Linked DNA regions of Homo sapiens: all the other regions are linked to region 3. Evidence: promoter capture Hi-C in 16 types of primary human blood cells and fetal thymus (Javierre and others, 2016). All regions are on one chromosome and are shown on one strand. Each heading gives the region's core, a stretch centred on a gene start or on the middle of the fragment in contact. The rest is flanking DNA. Distances are from core to core; before and after follow the strand shown.

Region 1 (3,042 bases), core at 205-2,704, 490 kb after region 3:
CTGGAGTGCAATGGCGTGATCTCAGCTCACTGCAACCTCCGCCCCGCATGTTCAAGCGATTCTCCTGCCTCAGCCTCCTGAGTAGCTGGGGTTACAGGTGCGCACCACCACCCCCGGCTAATTTTTTTTGTATTTTTAGTAGAGACGGGGTTTCGCCATGTTGATCAGGCTGGTCTCTAACTCCTGACCTCGTGATCCACCCGCCTCGGCCTCCCAAAATGCTGGGATTACAGGCCTGAGCCACCACACCTGGCACATGACACCCTTTTTAACGGTAAGAAAAACTGAGTTTCAGTGAGGTTGCACAACATTCCCAAAGACACACAAGCTACAACCTGGCAGGGTCCTCCTGACTCCAGAGCCTGCTCAGATGTCCCAGAAAGAACCCCCCAGGAGCCTCATTAGGGGCCCCAGTGGCCTGTGAAGAACTGGTGGATAAACTCAGACCTAACACCAAAGCTGTGTCTAGAGAGGCAACTGCAGTCTAGAGAAGATAGGTTACTGACCTAAGAAACCACAAATTTCACCTTTGCTTCCTCTCCATCAGGTACCCCAGGCCTTCTGACTTTCCCACCCTAAAGCCCATCAGATCCCAAACCTATTTGACATGGTTTCTTTTTTTTCTTTTCTTTTAATAAAAACATTATGAACCTCTAAATCTACTTTAAGACATGGTATCTAATTAGCATAAATGCATTCCAAAGGGTGGGTGGTTCCAGCCCAGATGGGCTTCCAGATGGGCCTCTTTCCTCTAACTGCTGGTCCTTTGGGCACCCCTCCCACCAATACCTCCCTTCCCTTCTGACCAAATTCCGCTTTCCAGAGCCTGGCTCAAGTCAGGAACAGTCCTCTGGTCCCAGCACAGTTCTGCAGAGCTCCTGCACCCCACCTACCCTCCCCTGCCGGCCTCCTCCCTGCCCACTGTGGCCATTTGGCTACAGTAGCTTGAGCTTTGAATTTCAGGACAAATCTAGAAAACCAGGGATCGAATACCTAGGCTCTGGCAACCCAGTGGGGTCTCAGGTGGGGCTAGCAGCCCCCAGTGTTACGTGACAGCCTGTAGCTTTTTAGTCATCACTGTCAGGCTTTTGCATAGCACTGGGAATGGGTCCCTGCCCTCTAGGGCCTAGGGGTCGGGTGCGGGCAGAACAACCACAGATGAGACAATGTAAGAAACTCCTGAGATGCAGAGGAACCAAGTCCTGTGGGATTCCAAAGGGGAGAGCCACTAGTTCTGCTGGGAGAGTGATCCAGAAACTGGTGAGAATGTGGTGGGAAAGAGGGGTACTCACAGGTAAGCTCACGGAGACGAGAGCACAGGAGTCAGATCTGAACGAGGGCAAGGACCAGAGGGCCCTGGTGCGTCATCATTCAAGGCAAAAATGGTCAGAAGTCTTTCCAAAGTTGTTCAGGGTCTCCTGCAGAGGGTTTGGGGCCCATCCTACCACTGCCAACCCCTCAACCATCCTTCCTGTCCACAGCCTGAGGTCACCATGGTCACTGATGTCTGAAGGCCAGAAATAGAAATGAGTCACTTGGCCTTCTAATGTGCTTTATCTAATGTTTGCTTTATTGAAGATGAAACAGTCGCCTTTTGCAGTGGGAGCCTCACTAGGCACCTGAGCTGCTGCATGTGGTGTCTGGGTCTCAGTATTCATGTAATGCCTGCATGTTCTTTCTGCTATAAAACAGGGTCACACTACCTCTTCAGTTCAGCCCCGAGACTTTGCTCTGTCAGGGGAGGGGTGCCGGGATCACCACTAAATATTAGTGCAGTTAAAGTTACCCTACTCTTCTTTTCCTGTAGCTTATCATCAAGGAGACACAGTAGTGGTTGAAGGTGAAGGGAAGCCCACCTCCAAGAATGCGAGTATGACCTTAGACATGCACCCCAGAGGAAAGAATGCCCACAGTCACTCTGAACGTATTCAGGGCAGCTCCTGTGCCAGCATAAGCAGAGTGCTGGTCAAGCAGGAAGAGACCTGTCAATACCAGTGAGCAGGAGGTCAGTACAAAAGAGGTCTGGCTGTTGATGTCAGGGACCCACAAGCAAGAGCCTCAGTCATTATGTGATCTGGAGCATGAAACCACAAGGTCAGATTCAGTGGCACAAAAGAGCCCCAGGATCATCTCAAGACCAGCAGCCACATGGCCTTGAAGCCAAACTATCAAATTACTCCTGTAGGCTCCTTCCATCCACTGGGTAGGAGCAGGATGCCCCCTGAGAATCAAGGACAGAGGAGATGGTAGAATGGTGTCATTAGGAAGATATTCCTGACAGGGTAACAGAGTGTCTTAGTCTGTCCAGTCTGCTATAACCAAGTATCACAGATTGGGTGGCCTACAAACAACAGAAATTTGTTTCTTACAGTTCTGGAGGCTGGAAGTCCAAGATCAAGTTGCCAGCAGACTCTGTGTCTGGTGAGAGCACACTTCCTGGTTCACAGATGGCACCTTCTCATTATGTCTTCCCATGGTAGAAGAGGCAAGGCAGCTCTCTGGGATGGCTACATTCTTATCCCTAATCACCTCCCAAGCCCCTCCTCCTAATACCACCAGGAGATTGGAGATGAGGTTTTAACATATGAATCTGAGGTGGACACATTCAGACCATAGCACACAGCCATACAGAAAAAGAGCTGGGTGGCTGGGGCAAGTCTTCCCAGGAGGAGAGAAAGCTACAGGTATGATTAGAGTGAAGAGAGGGAGGCTGGCTGCATGCTTCACCCAGTTCATCTCCCACCAAGGACAGGGTTGGGGGGAATCTACAAAGAAAAGTTTGTAATGAGGCAACATGTGCAGTGGTTTAAAAAACATAGATTTTAGGGGGAAAACGAACAGGACCCTACACTTCGCAGCTGTATGGCCAAGGGTAGTATTCCTCAAAATGTGGCCTTTGGTCCAGTAGCATCAGCCTAACCTGGGAACTTGCTGGAAAGGAAAATTCTTGATCCCCACCCCAGACTATGGAATCACACTCTGGGGGTGAGGTCCCACACACTGTTTTAACAAGCTGTGCCACTAATTTCATTGTACGCTAAA
Region 2 (2,746 bases), core at 225-2,724, 470 kb after region 3:
GCTCCTGGGCCAAATGCATTGTTGATGATGTGAGTTGTCTGCACTGCTTTACAACCCATTTTGAACTCAAATAAGAAAATCGCTCAAATTTGCTTTTTGTCTAACACCATTTCCATAGTCTAAAATAAGTATAAAATAAACAGCAAGTAACAAGTCCTTAGCCAAAAAAAATGCAAAGCAAGAAATGCACATTAAAATGATATATAACATAAGCGCATATATATTTTTTTTCTCTTTTTTTTTTTTTTTTTTGAGACGGAGTCGCACTCTGTCGCCCAGGCTGGAGTGCAATGGTGTGACCTTGGCTCACCGCAAGCTCCGCCTCCTGGGTTCATGCCATTCTCCTTCCTCAGCCTCCTGAGTAGCTGGGACTACAGGGACCTGCCACCACACCCGGCTAATTTTGTTTTGTATTTTTAGTACAGATGGGGTTTCACCATGTTAGCCAGGATGGTCTCTATCCCCTGACCTCGTGATCCACCTGCCTTGGCCTCCCAAAATGCTGGGATTACAGGCGTGAGCCACCGTGCCCGGCCAACATAAGCATATTTATTTAAGAATGTATTCCAATATCAAACAGCAAATTTCAACAATGCAAAAACTGCAATTACGTTTGCACCAACCTAATAATTGAGTCACTCTTCAGCTGGGAGTGCGTTCTGTCCCTGATGTAATCTTTTGTTGCACAGAGAATTCCAGAGCTTTCTGGTCCCTATCAGGATCTGAGACCTAAAGATGTTACCACTAGGGAACATATGAGTCACATTGCACCAAAGTATGTTAGCAACAGCAAATCCATATGGGTCTGCAGCAACTTCAGTTTTTGCCTCTTCAGAAGAAAGAATTCGACTGAGGGGCACAAGGCAGAGTGAGAAACTGGGGGAACTTTTTGAACAGGAGTGAAAGTTTGTTAAAAAGCTTTAGTGCAGGAATGAAAGAAAGTAAAGTGCACTTAGAAGAGGGCCAAGCAGGTGACTTGAGAGATCAACTGCCCAGTTTGACCTTTGACTTGGTGTCTTATATGTTGCCAGGCTTCCAGGGTTGTGTTACTTCTCCCCTGATTCTTACCTTGGGCTGTCTGCATGCACAGTGGCCTGCCAGCACTTGGGAGGGGGCTGCATGCACAGTGTGTTTACTGGAGTTGTACACAGGCTCACTTGAGGCATTCTTCCTTTACCAGTCAAGTATTCCTAGAAGAAGGTCATATACTAAACTCCAACATTTTGCCTCTTGATGTAGCATGCTTGAGCCCACTCACCCAACTCCTGAGATCTTATCAAGAAGCTGCTGATCACCAGCTTCAGGTGTTTCTATCTATTGGGAGACAGCCTTTCCCTGGCATCAGCTGTGACCAATTATTATTTTAGAGAGACAGTATAACAACTGTCTGACCATCACCTGATGGTCTCCTGACATTCCTGAGTGGGGGGCCTCTCCTATCCTGTTCATGTCTACCTGACTACCTACTGTAAACACTTCCCCCATCAAGAGTTCATCCAAAACTCCCAATTCTTTGGGGAGAATGGACAAAGATCAGTCTTTTATAGCTACCTCCTGCTGACAGATGGGCAGTGGTGGTTGTTCTGTGAGTCTTGGCCTCTTGCTAGCTGTCAGGGCAGGGTGGCTCCATGGGTTGGTGAAAGCAGTATTCAGCCAGGTCCAAGGGAGGCAGGGGCAGAATTTCACCTCTGTTGTGTCCCACTGATGAGCATTCTAGGGGTCCTCTGTAGAAGGGTGACTCCTGAATATTGAGAGGATGGTATTCCTCACTGAGGATCATCTGGAGCTTGATGGCCCATCCTTCTTGTTTCTTCTGAGCTGCAGCCAGAGATCACTGGTTGGTTCACAGGAATAAGCAGGGTCAGTCTAAATTGTGGAGGAAAAAAACTCAAAAGCAACTGATAAGACTAGAATCTAATAACAGGTATACCATAGTTCTTGAAACATAATTTTTCTCTCTCTAATTTCCCTTTTTTTTTTTTACTAAAAACAAATCATGGTAGGACTGACTTATTTACAAAATAAGCTTTAGTCTTATTATACTCAGCCTGATTATTTACATAGAATACAGTAAAAATAATTATTTGCCATATAATCTCCTTTTAAAATGGGTTTTGATGAAACTGTTCCATGAGGAATCCCAGATAAGACTTTAAAGCCTTAAGACAAGCCATGGGTTTGTGCCATCAAATACCTGTATGAGTTGGGTGAATTCCTCTCCTCTAGAGGTCCCAAGATAACTTGAGGCTCCTGGACCTGTCAGAAAGTGACATTCTCTACTTACCACAAGTCAAGAACCCTGTACAAGAACTGTGTAGACAAGCTATGAGGGAAGTGTTCCCAAGGGGTTTTTATTGGCTCTGTAAGTCAAATTTGATTCCTTAAAGGAAAGCACACCATTCTAGTCAAAGCCTTGGTAAAATAATCAGTTTCTCCAATTGTGTCCTGTTGCAAAAGGAAACAGATTCTTATTGCACTTATGCAAACAACTATATTGCCATAACTTTAGAATACTCACAAATAGTTTCCAAATTCTAAAGAAATCACGTAGAAAGAAACAAACATGCTCCAAATTTTGCTTACAGCAGTATATTTTACTTAATTGTTAAAAGCTGTAAACAGCTCAGGAGAAAAGTTTTCTTGGCTCTGAAAAACAAAGGATCAGCAATGTTTTCAGCAAAAAGTCACAAAAGGATTATTTCAGTCTTCTATTAGTTCAGGCCATGCAATTAACTCCTATTCTGCT
Region 3 (2,753 bases), core at 20-2,519:
AGCTTTGGTGTTGGTGGGAGGGTGGAACAGCAGCTTGCTGGCAGCTCAGACTCAGAGGGTGTTAGCCTGGGGAAGGAAGAAAGCTCAGAGCATGGATACGGGAGCTTGAGTCTGTCTGGGGTAGAAGCTGGGGTGGTTTCCGCTAAAGCAGGATAGATGATCAGTGTGGCCCCAGGGGCAGGGGAGGAGGGCTACTGGGACCTGGGTCTGTTCCTGCCTCAGAGGGAAGTTCTCCGTGAGCATCAGTTTTCAAGCACACAGTCTTGAGGACAGCCTCTCTCTCCCTGGAGCCTGGCTCACGTTATCTCTTGTGAAGCCCCCACACCCTCTTGCAGCCCTCTAAGTGGGACGTTTCCTTCAGAGACCACCCACAAGGGCTGCCCAAGTGGAACGGGCTGTGCGACAGATGTGGGTCACTTCCGACTCTGGGACAAAAGCTGAGAAGAGAGGCCTCAGAGAATAAATAGGAGACTAAGAGGACAGGCAGACAAACAGGACGAGCCTGGGGGCTCCAGGCCTGGACGGAGGAAGAAGCCAGCTATGTAAGAAACGAAGGCAACTTGGCGCCCTCCTCCCACCTTGCTTGCCTCCCTCCCCTGGGCCCAGGTCCCTCGGGCTGCTCTGGACTTCCCGCCAGGTTCCAGTCCTTCCAGTCCGGGAGAGGCCGGGAATGGATATTTAACCTTCCACCTTCTTTAGGGGGCTCTGAGCTTAGTCTCCCGGGGCTCACGTACCCTTGTCCCCAGGGCCCTGCTGCCTCTCGAAGTACCCTGGGGCGCTGGCTGAGAGCCCGTTAGAGGTCCGAGGGAGGTATCTGGGAAGGAAAGGAGGATATGCGGAGACCTGGCTCAGCAGAGAGGAGCGAGGAGAGAGAGGAAGTTCTGAGAGTGGCAGATAGAGATCGCGCGGTCAGAGGCGAGCGAGGCAGAGAAGGGGAGGTGCAGGCGGAAACGAGGAGCACCGGCCGGCTGCCCTCCCAAGAGACGCGCGGCGCGGGAGGCTGGACCCACAGCAGTCGCCCCTGCCCGCCTCCGCCTAGGATGGGAAACCTGGCGGAGGCTGAGAGCAGGAGAGCGCCACTGGCAGCCCCGAGGGGGCGAGCGCAGCGGAAGGTGCGGGTGGGCCCCGGGCCGGGGGTCACTCACCGCAGGCCAGGGCGGTACAATGCGGCCATGGCACCTGGGCAGGGGCTGCGGGGTGGCCAGGAACCGAGCGGAGCCGGGGAGGTATGGAAGGCGGGGAAGGAGGGAGCGCGGCGAAGCGAGCCACAGCAGAGGCTGGCGGGAGGCGCTTAAAAAGGAGGGGGGCAGGCGCGGGGGCGGAACCTGGTAGGGCTGGCACTAGCTTTCCTCCGCCCCGCTGGCAGGCCAGCTCCCTCGGCCCCGGGGCTCCAGGCTCCAGGTCAGCCCAGCCGCCGCCCCAACCCCTGCCTCCAAACCGCCAAACCCATCTCTCCCATTGGAGGACTGGGTCCACTCTTCGGCCCCCGACTTCGAGGCCCCGCCCCCCATCCGCCACCGCCCTCCCAGCCGCACATGATGTAACTTTGAGGACTCTTGCTCCCGGGAGAGACACTAGGTGGCAAACAAGCTAGGAACGAGGGGCGAGGCCAGGGGCGGGAGACTACAGGGGCCAGACGTCTAGAAGTTAGGGGGTTGGGCATTGCCTTTCCAGTTCCTCCTCCTGGGGACGCGACACCCTGAGTCCTGGGCCTTTCTGTAGTCCAAGTGCCCAATGCTAAGGTCCACTTAGTCCCCAACTCCTAAATCCCCGTTTCTCCTCCTGATCAAGGCTCCTTTCTGCCTTGCCATGAAATGGTGGAGTCTCTCTACCCCTGGGTCTCTTCCTTGGTCCTCTGATCTGGTCATTCTCCTCCCCCGGCACATCCCCTCTTCCCCTGACGGAGTCTTACTCTGTCACCCAGGCTGGAGTGCGTGCAGTGGCGCGATCTCGGCTCACTGCACACTCCGCCTCCCGGGTTCAAGCAATTCTCCTGTCTCAACCTGCAGAGTAGCTGGAATTACAGGCGCCTGCCACCACACTCGGCTGATTTTTTGTATTTTTTGTAAAGACGGGGTTTCTCCATGCTGGCCAAGCTGGTCTCCAACTCCTGACCTCGTGATCCGCCTGCCTTGGCCTCCCAAAGTGCTGGAATTTACAGGCGTGAGCCACCACGCCCGGCCTGGTCATTCTTTCTCTCCACAATCCAATGAGGAAACTCATCTGCCCACCCAACTACCATCATAAAGTCCTCAGGTGATTTCTCAAGCTATACCTCCATTGGGACATCTCTCTCCAACCTGAGACCACTGGATATCACCCACAATGCTATATAGCACCTCAAACTCAGCATATCTATGATGGGTGTCTGCTCAGCATCCACTCGCCTTTTCTGGTAATAGCACCCTGATTTTCTTTTGGGGAACCATCTCCTCAGTCTGTATTGTCATGTGGGTCTGATGTCACCCCTCTTGGGGGTAGGCTTGCAGCTTAGCCAACTTTTGTGTTCCTCACTCTGGCCACAGCAATCAAGGATGTTCAAGGATGGGCATGAGATCCCTCTCTGGGACTTTTTCTAAAACTTTGGAAGTTAGCTCTCTTTCTGCTGAGTTGCTGAGCTGGTAGAATATAAGCCTGGAGCTGCTGAGTGTTAGCTTGGCACTGCAAAGCAGGAACCTGGCTGAGACAGAAGCCAGCCTAGAGGAAGCAGAGCAGGGAGATGGCGAGCAATGGATTCCTGATTTCAGTTACAG

Evidence for each region. The method cuts DNA at HindIII sites, captures the fragments that hold promoters and counts their contacts. A CHiCAGO score of 5 or more calls a contact.
Region 1: a contact is called between a fragment that was not itself captured here and the fragment with the promoter of PCK2 in region 3, in 1 of 17 cell types (naive CD8 T cells). The highest score is 6.7, in naive CD8 T cells.
Region 2: a fragment that was not itself captured here is called in contact with the fragment with the promoter of PCK2 in region 3 in 1 of 17 cell types (naive CD4 T cells); the score reaches 5.4 in naive CD4 T cells.

What each region holds. Positions count from the first base shown.
Region 1 is chr14:23,601,039-23,604,080 of GRCh38, reverse strand. No RefSeq gene overlaps it. Among named protein-coding and RNA genes, the nearest start is that of JPH4, 24 kb to the right of the region's middle. RefSeq lists an enhancer at 1,427-1,721. The HindIII fragment of the contact is 5,671 bases long and covers 1-3,042 here.
Region 2 is chr14:23,626,101-23,628,846 of GRCh38, reverse strand. No RefSeq gene overlaps it. Among named protein-coding and RNA genes, the nearest start is that of DHRS2, 8.9 kb to the left of the region's middle. The HindIII fragment of the contact is 1,108 bases long and covers 921-2,028 here.
Region 3 is chr14:24,092,827-24,095,579 of GRCh38, reverse strand. It overlaps PCK2 (phosphoenolpyruvate carboxykinase 2, mitochondrial), which reads right to left and starts at 1,269. Exons shown (of 10, transcript NM_004563.4): 1 at 1,146-1,269. The coding sequence starts at 1,174. All of the region lies in intron 1 of NRL (neural retina leucine zipper), which reads left to right. RefSeq lists enhancers at 874-943, 597-1,246 and a silencer at 1,254-1,503. The HindIII fragment of the contact is 4,962 bases long and covers 1-2,753 here.